Linked DNA regions of Homo sapiens: region 1 is linked to region 2. The links are contacts of gene promoters, found by promoter capture Hi-C in blood cells and fetal thymus (Javierre and others, 2016). All regions are on one chromosome and are shown on one strand. Each heading gives the region's core, a stretch centred on a gene start or on the middle of the fragment in contact. The rest is flanking DNA. Distances are from core to core; before and after follow the strand shown. Region 1 has its middle 8.2 kb from the start of TBC1D5. Region 2 holds the start of SGO1 (shugoshin 1).

The links. The method cuts DNA at HindIII sites, captures the fragments that hold promoters and counts their contacts. A CHiCAGO score of 5 or more calls a contact.
Region 1: a fragment that was not itself captured here is called in contact with the fragment with the promoter of SGO1 in region 2 in 2 of 17 cell types (total CD4 T cells and non-activated CD4 T cells); the score reaches 7.7 in total CD4 T cells.

What each region holds. Positions count from the first base shown.
Region 1 is chr3:17,749,513-17,752,212 of GRCh38, reverse strand. No RefSeq gene overlaps it. Among named protein-coding and RNA genes, the nearest start is that of TBC1D5, 8.2 kb to the right of the region's middle. The HindIII fragment of the contact is 6,255 bases long and covers 1-2,700 here.
Region 2 is chr3:20,184,931-20,187,630 of GRCh38, reverse strand. SGO1 (shugoshin 1) reads left to right here and starts at 1,425. Exons shown (of 8, transcript NM_001199251.3): 1 at 1,425-1,683. It overlaps SGO1-AS1 (SGO1 antisense RNA 1), which reads right to left. Exons shown (of 4, transcript NR_132785.1): 4 at 1,516-1,656. RefSeq lists enhancers at 948-1,007, 1,028-1,707. The HindIII fragment of the contact is 754 bases long and covers 1,148-1,901 here.

The DNA of each region.
Region 1 (2,700 bases), core at 156-2,655, 2.4 Mb after region 2:
GCTGGAATTACAGGCGCCCACCACCACACATGGCTAATTTTTGTATTTTTAGTAGACACGGGTTTCACCATGTTAGCTAGGCTGGCCTTGAACTCCTGACCTCAGGTGATCTGCCTGCCTCGACCTCCCAAAGTGCTGGGATTATGGGCATAAGCCACTGTGCCTATTTACTCTTATTCATTTCAAACATTTATTGAATACCTACCAAATGCAACACACTTCTTAAAACACTGAGGATTCAGAGACAAGAAATACTGCTTGCCCTTGAGGGGCTCATAGTCTATGGAATGTCAGACATTTAAGCATTTAAGCAGCTGCTCATAACATATTGGGGCAAACACTCTAACAGGGATATGGAACTAAATGGTGTAAGCCAGTTGCTTTTTTTTTTTTTTTTTTTTTTGAGATAGAGTCTTGCTCTGTCTCCAGGCTGGAGTGCAGTGGCGTGATCTCAGCTCACTGCAACCTCCGCCTCCCAGGTTCAAGCGATTCTCCTGCCTCAGCCTCCCCAATAGCTGGGATTACAGGTATGCACCACCATGCCCAGTTAATTTTTGTATTTTTAGTAGAGACGGGGTTTCACCATGTTGGCCAGGATGGTCTTGATTTCTTGACCTTGTGGTCTGCCTGTCTTGGCCTCCCAAAGTGCTGGGATTACAGGCGTGAGCCACCGCTCCCAGCCCATGTTGCTTACTTAAGGTTTTTTGGCACAACATTTTAAGCCTGTACCTGGAAAAAATGTAGGAGTCTCATCTGGCATAAGAAACACTATAAAATCATGTTGAAAAATGTTTATTAGGGAAACACCTGTGCATACCAGACCAAGAATAAGTAATCCAATGGAAATAAATGCTATCACAGAGAACATATGATTCAAGGAAATGAATTTACCTACTTAATTGTGATCACGACTCCATTATCCTTTCACAAAACTGTTGAAAATCAACACTGATAATCTCCCACCAATGAGGAAGGATAATGTTTTGAAATAAGGTGCTTTCAGAACAAAAGTTAAGACATTAGTTTTACTGCTGTGCTATTTAGGCATACTAGTGGGCATATCATTGGAGACATTTGGGCAGTATAGCAAAAATACCTTTGTCTTTTTAATATCCAAAGTAAAGTCCAGAGTTTGCTATTTTGTATGTGCAAGCATTGAATTTCAATAATTATCGTTATATGTAGAATAAGCTGCTCTTCCTGCATACTGCTTTTTCTGATGAAGACTCAGAGATAATACTTATTAATTGTTATTAGTAAGAATTATTAACAAATAATTTATCAATAATTTATTATAATTATTATTGCACTATACATACATAATTATTTTATATATAGATACATAAATTGAATGGTTACTTTGATAGATATATAAATTGAATGGTTACTTTGTGCTAAATACCTAACAGGAGATTATCTCATTTAATGCTCTTAATGCTCACAACAACCTAACAAGTTAGGGACTATTATTATCCCTATCTTACAGATGAAACTGGAGCCACAGAGGTTAAGTAACTTAATTAATTCACTTTAGGTTACGTCATTAACAAGTAAGGGAGCTAGGATATGAACTTGGACAATTCTACTCCTGAGTCTATGCACTTAACTTCTTAGTTTATATTCCCTCCTAATGTTTCTGACTACACCATGATCTTTACAACTTTGAGCACAGTTGCACTGGTGTTAATCAAAAGCATAATGGTGCAAACATGAGCCTTGTAATATCAACGCATTTGACATTTCTCAGGTATCCATAAATGTTGACATCATATCCTTTAAGGGCAAATGAATTAATTTATTTATGATTTTTAAATTGATCTAGATAGGCTTTCATGAGATTCTCTGCCTATCAACTTAGTTAACAGAATACAATACCATACATACATACATATATATATATATATATATGTGTAGGTATATAATACCTTATATATTGTATTAGGTAGAGTATGCAGCTTTAAAGCAAGACAGAAAAAATTCAGTGGCTTAAATAAGGTAGAAGTTTATTTCTCTCTAATTTAAATGTGTAGTGAGGCAGTCTGGGTTGGATAGGCAGTACTTTACCAAGCAATACAGGGTTGCAGTTTCCTGCAATCTGGTTGCTCTGCTGGGCTCTGCACATTGGAACCTGAGTCATTACTATATCTGTGTTCCCGGTAGCAAGAATAGAGAAGGAGAGGCAGTGTAGGGCACGAAACTTGTGTATGGAAGTGTAGGGAAGAAGAGAAAAATAGATTTGGAAAGGAGGAGGAGGTATACACAGGTATGCAGACACCACATACAAATCAATTTCTGGTTTTAGCATTTTGAGGGCAGACTTTCTGAAGAATAATTTCACTTTCATTTTCTATGACTAGGATGAGATTTAAAATGACTTTACAGCCACTCCCTAATATCACCGATCAATTGGTTGAGCACCTCACACTCTTTACTTACAAGGTTAGTTTATTAGGTGAAAGAGTTTTGAAATTATGGATGAGAAGAATGATATATATATGTGCTGGGTAACTAACACAAGGAATGGAGTGAACAAATATTGTTTTGTCTGCCAAGTATCTCTCCCTACTCTGCCAAATAGCCATGACCCTTCTTTAGGAAACAGACTCTCTCCTACTCTTTGTGGTTGTTGGTGGGAGGGTAAGCAGAGGAGGTGCCCCTTGCAGGTCTCTGCTATGCATACAGTCATGTCCTGAAGAAAGA
Region 2 (2,700 bases), core at 176-2,675:
GGGAGTTGTTGGCTGGAGAAGGGTGTTTCAGCCTCTTCCACTCAAGCCAGGATGGGTACCCAGACTAGAGCAAGCATGTGTTAGCTACCTTTAAAAAACAACAACACACCTTCATAAAGAATGCCTAGATTCAAAACATTTGTTTCGTTTTCATTTATTTGTTCCTTTATTGTCCCAGTGAATATTTACTACTTACTTCAAATTGCAACGAGATGCTGACAATTTAGCTATGAACAAAGCAGATGTAGTTCCTGCCCTTATTCAACTTCAAGAAACAGGCAATGAACGACAAGTCAGTGTCACAAGGAATACCAAGGGGAAAATGCAGGGCACTAAGAAAGTGTAAAGCAGACACTCAGGGGCTTTAGGGGTAGATAAGTCTTTCTGGAAGAATTCATCTGTACAGTGAAACTTCAGTATACATAGGAGTAAGTTCGGCCAAGGGAAAGAGTGTTCTTGACAGAACAGCATTGGCAAAAGTGGCAAGAATTTTAAGAAAATTAAAGAAAATGTACAAGTGATGGAACCAGGAATCATGGGGCTCTTTAAGGACAAAATATCTTAAAGGAGTTTGAAATTCACCTTAAATGCAATAGGGAGCCATTGTAAAGTTTCCTATTTGATACTTGTTTTGTAAAAATATTAATCTATGAAGAATATAGGGAGTGGAGTCTGCGGTCAGAGTGGGTACTAGTGCAATTTAGGGAATGAGATTAGGCTGGAAGCTGGATTGGGGGGAAAAAGATGGGCATGAGAGAAACTTGGAAAGCAGAGTTGAGAAGATCGTGTGACCGACTGGACGGGCAAAGGTTAAGAGAGGATAAATAATCATTAAGGACGATTTCTCAGGCTTCTAGTCGGTAACTGGATGGATGTTGGTGCCATTTCTCGAGAAGAGTTAAAGAGCCAGAGATAGCCGGCAAAGAGAAACATGGAGCTAGAATTTTCAGGTATCTGCAGTTTCCCTAATACCTTTTTAATCCAGAATTTGCTCCTTGTTTTGGTTTTAATTCCTCTAAAAGCTGCTTCCGTGTTGCAAGCTGGCTGACCGCTTTAACAGGCAACCAAAGAGATTCTTCTCACAAGAGGGAGGCTTTGAGCACAACCCGGGACATTTGAAGCTGTCAGACTGAAGAAACAGGAAGCTTTGAACTACCTATCACACTCGGCCTTAAAGGTTTCGGAGTAACTCCACCCGTAAAATCCCCACGACTCTGATTAGAAAGTCCCGGCGGGTCGCCGAGACCCGACCGCAGGCTCCGCCCCAGGGCCAGGTGGATGCCCGGATGTGGACTTGAGCGAATGTGCGTCACGTGACGTCGCCTGGCGGGGCGGGACTCTGCCTGCGACGGTGGTGTTGGGTGCATCCTGCGCCACGTGACCGCCTCCCAGCCAACCAATGGAGGAGCGAGGCGGAAAATTTCGAATGTGGCGGCGGTAGTTCCAGGCGACGGCGGACGGTGGTACGGTCCTGGAGGGCCCAGTGCGCGGGGCTAGCCGTGGCTGGAGAGCTTCGAAGAGCCTTGAAATGTGAGGAGGAGGAAGATAGCTGTTGCAGAAGTAGTGGCCAAGGTATCGTTCTGGACGCGCCTGCGGCAGGAGGGTCGCCGCGTCCACTTCCGCCAGCCCCACCTCCCCCCGGCCTTCCTGGAGTCCCTGAAAGAGGAAGAAGTAGGTTTTAAGGTGCGAAACAAGGGCGTAGTGATCCCTGTTTGACTTCCCTTCGGTTTTCAGTATCATTCTAAATTCGGTGGCCGAAAGCTCGGGCCGTGGAGTCCCACTCGCCGCGCTTTTCGCCGTTCAGCCACTCGATCTGCGCTTTCAGATGTTCCGGCTTCCATGGAGACCCTAATTTCCTACTTTGCAAAATTGTGTAGATTAAGTGATGTGCAAATAAAGCTTTTACAATAGCTAAAAGCCTGGCTCAACGTAAGGACACAAGAAAATTGACAGCAGTTCTTTGTGCAGCGTGATACCGTTGACGTCCTCCTTGTCCAGGCCATTCTCTTCCTCACTTACCCTGGAGAGGCCGGCACTGACTAGTATCCTACCTGGCTGTCTTCGCAGCAGGACTAATTGGAGAATTATGGACGGAGATCAAATATGCTAGGTTCTTTAAATCCAGAGCGCTTACACGAGTACTGTACAGATTGAGACCGTCATCTCGCGCTGTGGTCTGTCTTTGCTTTCATCCCTTCTGTCTACCACACCCCCTGCTAATAACCATCGCCTTATTTAGACAGGATATAAAACTTTTGATATGGCAAGTTTCTTTTGTGATTTTTAACTTGATTAAAAGTAATAACGAAAGCTTTTTAGGTAAGGCTTTGCCTTTAAAATACCTTAACTAAACTAGATCCGTTACTTAATCTGTATGACTCTCAAACATCTCCAATTCTAACTTAATTGTGTAAAACAACCCCTTTACCGTTCGTGCTTTTAAAAATAGCTACCCTATCTCTGCTAGGAACCTCCCAGTACATATTGTATATACCTTGGTAGAAAGAAAGTTCTTAAGTGGTATCTACAATACCTATATTTAAGATTCCAGACACTGCATAGAGGAAAATAAGGCCTGGAGGAAATACTCAAGATTAAGTGTAAGGTTTAGGAAAATATTTGACTATCGTAGAGGAGATGAAGATATCCTTTGTAGTGAAAATTCTGTGCATAGATTGTTATTGGAAACAAGTCTTTTTT